Linked DNA regions of Homo sapiens: all the other regions are linked to region 1. Evidence: promoter capture Hi-C in human tissues and cell types (Jung and others, 2019). All regions are on one chromosome and are shown on one strand. Each heading gives the region's core, a stretch centred on a gene start or on the middle of the fragment in contact. The rest is flanking DNA. Distances are from core to core; before and after follow the strand shown.

Region 1 (4,722 bases), core at 1,638-4,137:
TGGGCGACAGAGCAAGACTCTATCTCAAAAAAAAAAAAGTACTCAGGGCTGTGGATCAGTGTAGATGAATACAGACTAGCTAAGAGATAATTGGAGGGGGGGATGATGGGAACCCTGGGTCCATTACACTAGTCCTTCTACTTTTGTATACCTGACAGTTCCCATAATACAAAGCTTTTAAAAACCCATCCTCTTGATTTACCTTCTGTGGTTCTTGTTTTAGGTGAGACACCCCAACAAACTCTGCTTCCAACTGGTATGTGAGTGCAAGCACTTGGATGTCCGTGGCAGAGAGGCTGGGGTAGTCTCCTGTTTTCTTTGAAAACTCAGTCACTGTAAACAACAGATTTACATCTTCAGTTAGAGGTAAAAAGCCATATGACCTTGGATAACCAATGGAAGTATCAAAACAATTTAGAACAGATCAAAATAATGGAAGTATCAAAACAATTTAGAAAGGATCACTATGTCATGAAAAACCTTAACACTTTCATCCATTTTCTGACCTTTTCCTACTCGCAGTTGAGAAATTTGTATTCTCCACCACCAAGATTCATGCCAGTTAGATTTACTGTAACACCCTTATCAAATACAGAGGAAGGAGCAGAAAGTTGGCTGGGGCCAGGCGTGGTGGCTCACGCCTGTAATCCCAACACTTTGGGAGGCAGAGGTGGGCGGATCACTTGAGGTCAGGAGACCAGCCTGGCCAACGTGGTGAAACCTGTCTCTAATAAATATACAAAAATTATCCCGGTGTGGTAGCGGGGGGGCCTGTAATCCCAGCTACTCAGGAGGCGGAGGCAGGAGAATTGTTTGAACCTGGGAGGCGGAGGTTGCAGTGAGTCAAGATTGCGCCACTGCACTCCAGCCTGGGCGACAGAGTGAGACTCCTTCTCAAAAAAAAGAAGAAAGTTGGGGCGTGGTGGCTCACACCTCACTACAGGAGGCTGAGGTGGGTAGATCACTTGAGGTCAGGAGTTCCAGACCAGCCTGGCCAACATGGTGAAACCCCTTGTCTCCTAAAAATACAAAAGTTAGCCAGGTGTGGTGGCGTGTGCCTGTAGTCCCAGCTACTGGGGAGGCTGAGGCAGAAGAATTGCTGGAACCCAGGAGGTGGAGGCTGCAGTGAGCCAAGATCGTGCCACTGCACTCCAGGCTAGGCAACACAGCCAGACTCCATCTCAAAAAAAAAAAAGTTTCAGATTTAGGAGCATTCTGGATTTCAGATTCAGTATGCTCAACTTGTAATTGTAGTAGTCTATGAGGAAACAAAAAGCATGTGCTTAATGCATAATACATGTCAGACTGCTGTTATTCTCCAGAGTCATCCATAATAAACACTTAAAATTTCCTGAAATTAACAGAAAGATGTCTCCTGCTACCCTGGTACAAGGAACACTAGGTATATTGCTCTTATTTCCTAAAAAACAGACATTAGCAGCAACGAAAATTTACTGTGCACTTACTGTGTACTAGGCACTGCATTAAAAGCTTTATGTGTTAATGCATTTCATCCTTTGCCATTCTTCAAAAGTACTATTAGTATTTCCTCGGAAAGATTTAGTAAGTTGGCAAAGATCACAGAGCTACTAAGTTGGTGGAGAAAATCGTAGAAATCACAAACAGAGGAGGTAACATCATCTCCACTATCAGCCTCTAACCTCTAAAACACTTCCAACCACTGAGGGGCCTTTCCTGGGTATCACCTTGATTCCCAACAAGAGAACAACGCTGACTCCTAAGCCAAGAGACAATTCTTTAATTTTCTTTATTTCTTATTTTTTTTGAGACAGAGTCTCGCTCTGTCGCCCAGGCTGGAGTGCAGTGGTACGATCTCGGCTCACTGCAACCTCCACCTCCAGGTTCAAGCAATTCTCCTGCCTCAGCCTCCCAAGTAGCTGGGATTACAGGAGCACACCACCACGCCCAGCTAATTTTGTATTTTTAGTAGAGGCAGGGTTTCACCATGTTGGTCAGGCTGGTCTCAAACTCCTGACCTCAGGTGATGCGCCCGCCTCGGTCTCCCAGTGCTGGGATTACAGGCCGTAAGCCACCGCGCCCAGCTTAATTTTCTTTCACATTTAATACAATGCAAAGCATTCCCTTTTTAAAGCTCTGCCAGGTGCAGATCTTTGTATCCAGTCATCAGCCCAATCTACTGAAAAGAAATGGACGAGAGTAATAGCAAGAGATCCAAACTCTTATTTTAAATCCAAATAAATTTATTGCTTGTCTGCAAAGTGCTTGACACTGAGCTGACTGCCATATTCCTCAGTTCATGCTCACAGCAACCTTGGAGACAGATACAATTATTATTCCCATTTTGCGGATGAGGTAAACGAGGCCCAAATTTGAATGCTATGCCCGAGAGCATACAGCTAGTTACTGGAGGACTCCAGACCCAGGAAGCCTCTCTCCTACCACAATCTCCTAGAAAGTGCTGGCTCTAAATCTACTGCTCTGATAAGGCAGCTAGACCCCAACTCGCACCCAACTGGGTGCCATCTGCGCCCTGGACCCCAGCTTCCCGTCAACGCTAGGGCAGAGGCACTCACCCAGCCGCACGTATTCCGGTAAGGGCTCCTTGAACCGCAGCTCGTAGGGCAGGACAGCGAGCCGCCTGCGTGTGGCCTTGTCCCGAATCTCAGTGACCACCTCCCGGATGGTGTAAATGTTCTTCCCGATGTCCTGCGGACAGAACGCCCCAGCTCAGACCCACCCGCACCAAGCAACGCTCCGCGCGACTCCACGCACTCCGGGAGGGGCGGCCAGCCCAGATCTCTCTCGTCCCGGAGGGAGCTCCCCGTACCTGCAGAGCCGCATGCCGCAGGAAAGCCCCAGCATCCGCCACAACGTGCTCCACTGGAGCCATGTTGGCTGCGTGAGAGGGGAGCGCGCATGCGCACGGAGCTTGCGCCGGCTCCTATGTCCAAGTCTGGGCCTCTGGGAACCAGGAAGAGCAGCCGCGACTTAGCTGCGCCTCCTGGCGGCCGCGCCAGCACCTCCCTGCTCTACTCGCGCGCATGCGCAGCGACGCCGCCCGCATAGCCAGAGAAGTGTGGGCGGGGTCAAACCTTGGGGGACACCTGGGAAATCGGCTTCAGCATCTAGACCTTAGTGCCTTCTTCACCTTTGAAGATAAAACCTGCCAGGTGTAGTGGTGCGCGCCTAGAGTCCCAGCTATTAAGGAGGCTGAGGCGAAAGGATTGCCTGAGCCCTGGAATGTGAAACCAGCCTGGGCAACATAGAGAGACCCCCATCTCTTCAATAAATAAATAAATTTAAAACCTGTATATATTCTTATGGTTAAAAGTCAATCAATACAGATTACCTAATTTCGTTATCACAGCACCCCTATGAGATAGGTACTGTTTTTTTTTAAAGGCTTAAAATGTATTTTAATAGGTCGATGCTGCATTACTGCTCCAGTTCTCAGAAAAACTCCAAATATATCAGAGACAAATCAAATACAATACACCAATGGAAAAAAAAGGCACAGCATGACTACCTAAGATAGGCGAGTCTAAGAGCTACTGTCAGACCTTCAGTATACAGTAACCCTGTTCCCAAGATTGTACTAGGCCTATCAAGAAAAGCTGTGAACAGCAGTATCATAGACACAAAAGGGTCATTCCTGGGTGTCCTCACCCAAGAAAAAGATGGAGGCAAGTTAACACAAGATTTTTTTTTAAAGATATACTAAAATGAAAATCTCTAAGAGAAAATGTCTTCTTTAGGACATGAAGGGGTAATATATGGGATATAATAGAACCGTATGTACGTTGCCTGTGACCTTTGTGGACGTTTACCTGAATTCTCACCTGGGAGTGAATGGAGCAATGCGGCTAAGGTCATTGGGGGATGTTTGGTTTTTGTGGTGTATGTGGCAGTTTCTCTGGGACTGGGGGAGTGTAAGGATAAGAAAGCAAGTGAGGTTGGGCACGGTGGCTCACCCCTGTAATCCCAGCATTTTGGGAGGCTGAGGCAGGGGATCACGAGGTCAGGAGTTCAAGATCAGCCTGGACAAGCTTGAACCCGAGAGGCAGAGATTGCAGTGAGCCGAGATCGTGCCACTACACTCCAGCCTGGGCGACAGAGTAAGACTCCATCTCGGGGGCAGGGCAAGCAAATGAAACAAGATGGACAAAAAAAAAAAAAAAAAAAAACAACAAACAAACCAAAAAAACAGAATGATCAAGATTAATGGGCTCTAACTGGATCTACTTTGCCATGGTTTCCCCAGGCCCTCAACAATCACATTTGAGACTTCAGGAATGCACCACACAGAACTGATTAAATAATATACTACATAGAATTGACTTGTTTAATACCACCCCTCCCTTGTCCTCTGCCTCCAGCATACTCCCTAGAGTAGTACAGGCAGGGTAGATCTAACTATTGGAAGGAATCCCTAACACTTTTCCAGGGTAGAATTCTGGCTGGTCCAAAAAGGGTCCTTCTTTTAAGGGTTTTGAGAAACTAGACACTGCAACTTATTAGTATCGGCGACGTTTGTTTGGAGCAAATTCAGCTCCAGGAGCTGCATGGTTGAATGCAGGAGGAGTTTCACCAATTGCCCCAATTCCTTCCATTGTAGCAGCCTGACCAAAGCGTTCAGTTGTTGGTGGGGTCAATCCCAAAGTTCCATCCGGCATCATAGTGGCAGGTCCTGGAGGAGCTGGGGTACCAGCTGGCACAGGAGCAGGGGTCAAGGCACCTCTG
Region 2 (4,722 bases), core at 1,462-3,961, 310 kb before region 1:
TCCACCTCCTAGGTTCAAGTGATTTTCCTGCCTCAGCCTCCTGAGTAGCTGGAATTATAGGAGCGGGCCACCACACCCAGCTAATTTTTGTATTTTCAGTAGAGATAAAGTTTCACCATGTTGGCCAGGCTAGGGTCAAATTCCCAACCTCAAGTGATCCACCTGCCTCAGCCTCCCAAAGTGCTGGGATTACAGGTGTGAGCCAAAATCTACCATCTTAAACATTTGTTTGTTTTAAAGACAGGGTCTTGCTCTGTCACTCAGGCTCGAGTGCAGTGGTGTGATTGTAGCTCATTGTAGCCTTGAACTCCTGGGCTCAAGCAATCTTTCTGCCTCAGCCTCCCAAGTAGCTGGGACTACAGATGTGCACCACCACACCTGGCCAATTTTTTTAGTTTGTTTTTAATATAGATCGGGGTCTTGCTGTGTTGCCCAGGCTGGTCTCCAACCCCTGGCCTCTAGTGATCCTCCTGCCTCAGCTTCCCAAAGTCCTGGGATTATAGGCCTCAGCCACTGCACCTGGCCCATCTTAAACATTTTTAAGTGTACAATTCAATTGTTTTAAATATTGAATATTGAATATTGTTGTGAATCAGATCTCTAGAACTTTTACATCTTACAAAAATGAGACTATACTCATTAAACAAATTCCCTTTTTTTCCTTCCCCAGTGCCTGGCAATCACATTCTACTTTGTGTTTCTATGAATTTACTTTACATACTGCCTATATTTTTGAGATTTAGCCATAAGATGTCACTGTAGTAAGTGAACACACTTGTATAACCACCATCTGGTTCTTCCTCATCCCCAGAGGTACCCACTGTATTACCATAACAGCATAGATTCATTTTGCCTGTGTTTGAACTTTTTATAAATGGAAATTTCACAGTATATATTCTTTTGTGTCTGGTTTCTTCAGTTCAACATGTTGCATTCTCATGTGTTGTGTATGTGGCAGTGGTTCGTTCTTTTTCATTGCAGATTAGGATTCCATTGTATGATTATATCTCATTTTGTACATACTCTGCTGTAGATGTTTGGGCTGTTTCCAGTTTGGGACTGTAATGAATAATGCTGCTATGGCCGTGTGTGTTGCGTGTGTGTGTGTGTGTGTGTGTGTAAATACATATATCTATTACACATTTCTCTTTAGTATATATTAGGGGATCTCATTTGATTTTTTTTTTTTTAAAGAGATAGTGTCTCACTATGTTGTCCAGGATGGTCATGAACTCCCAGGCTCAAGCGATCCTTCCACCTTGGCCTCCCAAACTGCTGGGATTACAGGCCTGCGCCGCCGTGCCTGGCCTTCATTTGATTTTTTAATGGAAATTTTTATTGAGATAATTGTAGATTCATATGTAGTTGTAAGAAATGATAGAGATCCTTTGTACTCTTCTCTCATTTGTAACATTTTGCAAGACTTTAGTATGGTATCACAACCAGGATATTGACATTAATCAGTCCACAGATATTATTCTGATTTCCCAGTTTTACTTCTCTCTTTTTTTTTTTTTTTTTTGAGATGGAGTCTTGCTCTGTTGCCCAGGCTGGAGTGCAGTGGCACAATCTCAGCTCACTGCAACCTCCGCCTCCCGCGTTCAAGTGATTTTCCTGCCTCAGCCTCCTGAGTAGCTGGGACTTACAGGCACATGCCACCACATCCAGCTAATTTTTTGTATTTTTAGTACAGACAGGGTTTCACCATGTTGGCCAGGATGGTCTCGGTCTCCTGACCTCGTGATCCGCCCGCCTCAGCCTCCCAAAGTGCTGGGATTATAGGCGTGAGCCACCACGACTGTCCTTACTTCTCTTTGATTTATTTCTTAAAGAGAAAGCGAGATGGTTTAATTTGTAGTCAAGAGTCATTTCTTCTTGATTACAGTGCTCATTATGCAAATTTCATCTACCTGTTGATACAGAAATGGTACCCTGCCACTTCCCTGGACATTTATTCCAGACAGAAAAATTCCTGTGCAACCCTCACCTAGATGTCTGCCAGCAGTTGATCTCTCTGCCTTCTTAAAAAGTTATGTAAACTCTTATCTAGAATATCTGGGGTTTTTAGTTCAACTGACTGGACATATACAGTATAGAAACTCATTTTTTTTCAGTGGGTTTGATAATATTCTCAACTCTAGATCAAGAACTTCCCATTACTTAACCTGTCTTTGATGATCCTGAAAGTTCCCTAGATGGGAAATAGATCTGGCAGTATGTCAGGGTCACTAATTTTCCCTGGATAGTATTAAAATATATAGAAGGTTTGCTACTTTTCCTGGCCCTGGATAATCTGTCTGAAAAGAGTTTGTGTGAATGAAGTTTTCACGTATTTGCTCTTCATGTCATCCTGTAGGCTCAGAATGAACAATACAGGGAGATTCATTTTGCTTATCTATAGTTTCTAAATTTTTGGTAATGAAAATTATTACTTTTGTAAAGAAAGTTATAAAAATACTAACAATTAAATATAAAAATGCAGGGTGCTTGGATCTCAAAATAGGAGCTTACTGTGATTAAAAGTCAGACTGCATATAATAATTAGTTATAATTAATAATGCTTTTTCTTTCTTTGTTTACATGAAATCTTTCAGAAAATAATAATGCTTTTTCAAAGATTGAATTTTTGGTAAATGTTTATATTTTGGCTAGCTTAAGTTTTCCCCTTTCTCTGCCTCTCATTTCTAGAGTCACCAGAAGGAAAATGTAAAACATTTTTTAAATGGCTCTTTCCCTGTAAATCATCCAGCACACACACTGCATTTTTTCTAGTTTCAGGCATAAAGGGAAACCTGGCTCAGATAAGAATGATCCTTGCTGCATGCTCAGCGGCTCATATATCTTTCTTTTTAAATTATTATTTTTTACTTTTTAATATTTATGTATTTTTAATTTTTTTAGTGACAGGGTCTCCGTTGCCCAGGCTGCAGTGCAGTGGCGCCATGCCTCGAATTCCTTGGCTTCTGGATGATCCTCCTAATTCAGCTTCCTGAGTAGCCAGGACTACAGGCCACCATGCCTGGATAATTTTTTAATTTTTAAAATTTTTTTTGTGGAGAACAAGGTCTTGCTTGGTTGCCCAGGTTGGTCTTGAATTCCTGGCCTCAAGCAATCTTCCTGCCTTGGCCTCCCAAAGTGTTGGGAATACAGGTGTGAGCCACTGTGCCTAGCTATCCTTTTTTTTTTTTTTTTTTTAAATTCTGAGAGTCTCTAGCTCAAACACAAGTTAGCAGGTTAAGGACTACTCCAAGTTCTGGCAGAGCTAATTTTTACTACTTGGTCTTCAAAAAATAGAGGCTTTTTTAAAAATTTTTTTTGTGACAGAGCTTCACTGTATTGCCCAGGCTGGAGTGCAGTGGTGCGATTGTGGCTCACTGAAAACTTCGCCTCCCGGGTTCAAGTGGTTTTCCCGAATAGTTGGGATTACAGGTGAGCGCCAGCATACCCAGCTAATTTTTGTACTTTTAGTAGAGACAGGGTTTCACCACGTTGGCCAGGCTGGTCTCAAACTCCTGGCCTCAAGTGATCCGCCCTCTTCAGCCTCCCAAAGTGTTGGGATTACAGGCGTGAGCCATGGCACTTGGTCTTGTAACTCCTTTTTGAACATAACTTCAAAGTGAAGGCCTTTGCCCATGAGCTCTTTGACATCATCTGGTGTCCACTGGTGACCCATCAGCTCCAGAACTTTCTACTTTGTCTTGGAAGCTTTGCTGGTTTCTGTGGGCATGGCCATGGCTGCTCTGGTCATCTGCTCCTGCCTCATTTCTTATTGGTCAGTTGCCATTATCTTGGCCTAGAATCACAGTAAATTCTCTGAAGCCCAAATACGTTGAGGAAATACCAGGATGCAGAGCTCATTCAGGGTGGATCTAATGTGAGTAGTTTGATAACTTGCTGCAGCATAGGCTTAAAACCAGAGGGTCGGCCGGGTGCAGTGGCTCATGCCTGTAATCCCAGCACTTTAGGAGGCCGAGGCGGGTGAATCACCTGAGGTCAGGAGTTCGAGACCAGCCTGGCCAACGTGGTGAAACCTTGTCTCTACTAAAAACACAAAAATTAGCTGGGCATGGTGGCAGGCACCTGTAGTCCCAGCTACCTGGGAGGCTGAGGCAGGAGAATCGCTTGAACTTGGGAGGCAGAGGTTGCAGTGAGCCGAGATTGTGCTACTGCATTCCAGCCTGGGCAACAGAGTGAGACTCCGTCTCAAAACAAACAAACAAACAAACAACAACAACAAAAAACAGAGGGTCAGTGGAAATAGGACCTTGGTTGCAACAATGCCTGAGTATGTCAATGTTGATCCATTCACAAGTAAGAATCATAGGGATGACGTTTGTTATATTTCCTTTCATCATGCCTGAGAGCATAGTGGGAGGAAGTGGTGATATTTTTATCCTCTGGGTTGTTGATGTAATATTCTCATGTCAAGAAAAAGACTTTTTGGGAATGTAATTTCCATTTTCACTGAAGGCTCTGCTTCAAATTAGGACTTAACTGTCAGATACTTGCTCCTGGGTGAGCTTCTTGTCGCTCTGTACCAGGATGAACATGTAGTGGCAGATCATATCTGAGAAGAAGCAGATGATAAACATGGGCGGGACCATCCAGTGGCTGACGCTGGAGTTGGACAGTAGCTCCTACCCTCTGTCTTCACTGAGAGCTGGTCTGGCTTCTCCTGGGGTGCCGGGGCTCTTTGGGTTTTCGTCGAGGCCTTCGTATGCT
Region 3 (4,722 bases), core at 1,256-3,755, 270 kb before region 1:
GCTGTTATGTGTAGCTGTCATTCGTATTTTTTTTGGATGCATCATCCACAATGTATTTATCTGATCTATTGTTTTATTTTTTGTTTTTGAGATGGAGTCTTATTCTGTCGGCCAGGCTAGAGTGCAGTGGTGGAATCTCGGCTCATTGCAACCTCCATACCCCAGGTTCAAGCAGTTCTCTTGCCTCAGCTTCCTGAGTAGCTGGGACTACAAGTGAGTGCCACCATGCCCGGCTAATTTTTTTATTTTTATTATTTTTTTAAATTTTTAGTAGAGACAGGGTTTTGCCATGTTGGCCAAGCTGTTCTCAAACTCCTGACCTCAGGTGATCTGTCTGCCTTGGCCTCCCGAAGTGCTGGGATTACAGGTGTGAACCACCACACCCACCTCAATCTACTGTTAATGGACATTAGGTCATTGGTTTTTTTTTTTGTTTTTTTTTGTTTTTTGCCAACAATACTACTATGAGCATTACTGCGTTTATAGCCTGGTTTGTGTGTGCAAGAATGTCTCCTGGATGTATACCTTGGAGTGGACCTGCAGTGTTGAGCCTTCCTTTGATTCACATCCTTGTCTGTTTGGGTTCTTTTCCATGCAGATGCCAATAACTGGGACCACAGGATAAAGAAAGTACTGGGTAGCCCCATGGAAAACACAGTATGCTTCCTCAAAAAGTTAAACATAGAGTTACCATGTGACCCAGCAATTCCACTCTTAGATATGTACCCAAGAGTATTGAAAACATGCTCACACAAAAACAAGTATGCCGATGTTCATAGCAGCTTACTCATAATAGCCCAAAGGGGCGGAAATGACCCAAACGTCTATCACCTGATGAATGGGTAAACAAAGTGTGTTGTCTCTATATACTGGAATGTTATTCAGCTATAAAAAGAAATCAAGTATTGATACATGCCCCACCATGGGTGAACCTTAAGAATACTGTGCCTAAGTGAAAGAAGCCAGACACAAATGACCACATACTGTAACTTCCATTGGAATGAAAAGTCCAAAATAGGCAAGTTCATAGAGACAGAAGGTAGATAAGTTGTTTCCGGGTGCAGGGGGAGGGGAGATGTGGGGAGTCACTGCCAAAGGGCACAGAGTTCCTTTTTGAGGGGATGAAATTAGACAGTGGTAATGGTCTCATCTCATATGTTTGTGAATACACTGAAAAACACTAAATTGTATACTTTAAAAGGGTGAATTTTGTGGTGCATAAATTCTTTTTTTTTTTTTTTTTTTTGAGATGGAGTCCTGCTCTGTCATCCAGACTGGAGTGCAGTGATGCGATCTCAGCTTACTGCAACCTCCGCCTCCTGGGCTCAAACCATCCTCCCACCTCAGCCTCCTGAGTGGCTGGGACTACAGGCGCACATCACCATGCCCAGACAATTTTTGCATTTTTAGTAGAGACGGGGTTTCCCCATGTTGGCCAGGCTGGTCTCAAACTCCTGACCTCAAGTGATCCACCTGCCTCGGCCTCCCAAAGTGCTGGGATTACAGGTGTGAGCCACCACACCCGACCCATAAATTCTTTCTTAATAAAAATGTAAATAAAATCACAATATCTTTATCATTGATTTATGTATTCAAAACACACGCATTAAGTACCTAAGACACGCCAGACATTCCCCAGCACGTTGCTGGGAAACACTGTATGAGTCAGACGTGGCCCCAGTATTGATCAGAACCATCCCCAGGCTCCTGACAGGTAACAAATGGCACATTCAAAAAGGGTCGTTGAGGAGAGTTTCATGAAGGGACATTTGCAGCCATGTGTGCAGGGCAGAGAGGAACTAGTTGAAGGCATGGTGAAGCATTTCAGGGTTGGTGACACATGGCAGCTGTTACTGCCCAGACAGGCAAGGGGAGAAAGTGGTTACTAGAGCCTGGTAAGGGTTGCAGCAGAGGGAGCGGGCAGGGTCCACAGCAGGGAGGGAGCCATCCTGGCCTCATTGTCCTCCACTCTCTCATCTCCTACTTGTGCCTCCCCTTAGGGGACACAAACCGGAAGCCTTTGGAGTTGGGAGCTTGGGGATCCTCCGTGGATGGGAACTGCGCGTGGGCGACCCAGGAGTCTGCAGAGACCCCCGAGGCACAGTCCCCATTGGTCAGCCTCCTGAGCTGTAGGCAGGAGGGGAGAGGGCTGGAGAGTGAATCGAAAGAAACAAACACAGTATGTCCAGCTGTTCCCATCCTCATAGACTCTACTTTTTATTTTTTATTTTTTTATTTTTTGAGCAAGGTCTTCCTCTGTCGCCCAGGCTGGAGTGCAGTGGCGTGATCACAGCTCACTGCAACCTTGACCTGCTGGGCTCAAGCGATCCTCCCACCCCAGCCTCCCCAGTAGCTGGGACTACAGGCCCATGCCACCACTTCAGGCTAATTTTTTAATTTTCTTTTTTGTAGAGACAGGGTCTCACTATATTGCCCAGGCTGGTCTCAAACCCCTGGGCTCAAGCGATCCTCCCACCTACCTCGGCCTCCCAAAGTGCTGGGACTACATTCGTGAGCCCCTGTGCCCAGCCAGCTCTACATTTTGAGTGAGGAGACAGACAGAAAAATGAAATAATTACAGAATGTGATCAACAAACAGGCTGGCATGAAGGAGGGTATCTTGGTGTGTGGGTGGGTGATGGGGTCACTTCAGATCTGGTGCTTGGGAGGATCTTTCCAAGGAGGAGGTGCTGCTTCAGCTGGGACCTGAAAGATGAGCACCTGGGTGATGAAGGCACTGTTTATTGAGATAAGAAAGCTTGGAGGAGAAACAGATTTGGGGAAGGAAACCAGGAATCCCCCTGGTTTCCTGTAAAGATAGGACATATATGCAAACACAGAAAAACAACAACTCCAGGCCCAGTGAGAATCCCTGGGGCTGCTGGAGAGGCTGAGCTGGAGCGGATGGCTGTGAGCTGACACCCAGGGCCTGCCTCTCGGAAGCCAGGACATGTGTGGACTGCGCCCTCCCTGGAGGTTACACGGAGTGCTGGCGCAGCACGCTGGCTCCGGGCCCTCCCGCTTGCTCTCAGGGCTCCTTCCAGCGTTCACTGGGACATTTGCCATGTCCTAGGTCCTTCTCTTACAAAGGCAAGAAGGGCCAGGCGAAGGGAGTGTTCGCCGAAAACCAAACGTGACACAACCTTAAATATAGGCAGGTGCTCTGATCTGATAGCACGGGTGGCCCCAGGGAGAAACATGGACTTGCCAACCATGAAGGGTCCAAAAATCTACTTAGAAAAACACTGAGGCCCATGATTAATACTGAGGTGCCCGGAGCACCAAGAGAGAAAAGCAGGCCCAACATCCTGGCTGGAGCAAAGTCAAGAGAGAAGGAGAGAAGGCAGCAGCCAGCACATGGCTCCTCCTGCGATGGGTCATCGCAGCATCTCTGTCCCGGCATCAGCCAGGGCCCACCTTCGGGTGCTTCCAGCCCACTCGACTCGGCACATCGCTGTATTTTCTTCCATCGAGATCTCTCCCCACTGGCTCTTTGCCCAGCCAGTTGCCCACAGACTGGAAAACAAAAGCTCACTGCCTTCCCTGGGGACCTGGGCTTAAGGGATGGGCCTTGGGCAGGCTGGGCGGATGCTCTGTTGATTTTTTTTTCCAAGTGCAGAGAATGTGACAGCCAATTCCTGTTGGAAGTGGCTTTTGTTTTCTTTGGAGCATGAAGCACTTTTCCTTTCTCTTGATTGTTTCAGTTCAGGTCATGTTTAGGATGGAGATGATTTGCTAGCCTAATTGCATGCCTTCCAGAACTGTGGTTCTTAACCTTTTGGGACACAGATCCTATTGCAAACCTGATAAAAAACTACAGACCAGTTCTCTAAAACACACACACACACACACACACTCTCACACACACACACTCACACACACACACACACACACTCACACATGTAAATGCCCCAAATTAAATTTTTATTTGTTAAATTTTATTTAAACTTTAAAAAATTTTAAAAAATAGGCTGGGCATGGTGGCTCACACCTGTAATCCCAGTACTTTGGGAGGCCAACATGGGTGGATCACCTGAGGTCAGGAGTTCGAAACCAGCCTGGCCAACATGGCGAAACCCCGTCTCTACTAAAAAATTAAAAAATTAGCTGGGCGTGGTGTCAGGTGCCTGTAATCCCAGCTACTCGGGAGGCTGAGGCAGGAGAATCATTTAAACCTGGGAGGTGGAGGTTGCAGTGAGCCAAGATTGCACCATTGCACTCCTGGGCAACAGAGCAAGACTCCATCTCAAAAAAAATATAATAATTTTTTTTTTAAAATAGAGATGGTTGTCTCACTATGTTGACCAGGCTAGTCTCTAACTCGTGGCCTTAAGTGATCCTCACATCTCAGCCTCCCAAAGTGCTGGGATTATAGGCAAGAGCCACTGTGCCTGGCCCCAGATTAAACATTTAATATCAACCCTAGTAGATTCAGATCCCTTGGGTTAAGGCAGTAAGTCCTTCCCACCTCTCTTCATCACTCCTAATCCCCACCCTCACAACAGCTTTCTGTTCAGTCTGGATCTTAAAATTCCTCTTCTTTAGCACTCTGCAGGGGCCGGCATTTCTCGCCTGGCTCCTGCCTGAATTAATCCCATGTGTTCAACCCGCTGAGGAGCACAAGCTCTTGCTAGCTCTGGCCGCCTCTGGTTGAAGGGTCCAATCCAGTGGCATGCCTATTTTTCAGTAGAATGCTCCAGTAAGATTTGTAAAATCTTTGTC

Evidence for each region. Contacts are between HindIII fragments. The study calls those that stand out against the background at their distance.
Region 2: a fragment that was not itself captured here is called in contact with the fragment with the promoter of NOB1 in region 1 in 1 of the 25 tissues and cell types used here (dorsolateral prefrontal cortex).
Region 3: a contact is called between a fragment that was not itself captured here and the fragment with the promoter of NOB1 in region 1, in 1 of the 25 tissues and cell types used here (bladder).

The regions. Positions count from the first base shown.
Region 1 is chr16:69,752,039-69,756,760 of GRCh38, forward strand. NOB1 (NIN1 (RPN12) binding protein 1 homolog) reads right to left here and starts at 2,888. Exons shown (of 9, transcript NM_014062.3): 1 at 2,810-2,888; 2 at 2,556-2,688; 3 at 203-333. The coding sequence starts at 2,872. It also overlaps the pseudogene NONOP1. RefSeq lists enhancers at 1,934-2,557, 2,558-3,180. The HindIII fragment of the contact is 4,198 bases long and covers 833-4,722 here.
Region 2 is chr16:69,439,650-69,444,371 of GRCh38, forward strand. All of the region lies in intron 1 of CYB5B (cytochrome b5 type B), which reads left to right. It also overlaps the pseudogene LOC100420066. Among named protein-coding and RNA genes, the nearest start is that of CYB5B, 17 kb to the left of the region's middle. RefSeq lists a silencer at 3,856-4,138 and enhancers at 4,485-4,564, 4,595-4,722. The HindIII fragment of the contact is 5,837 bases long and covers 1-4,722 here.
Region 3 is chr16:69,479,217-69,483,938 of GRCh38, forward strand. No RefSeq gene overlaps it. Among named protein-coding and RNA genes, the nearest start is that of CYB5B, 57 kb to the left of the region's middle. The HindIII fragment of the contact is 7,934 bases long and covers 1-4,722 here.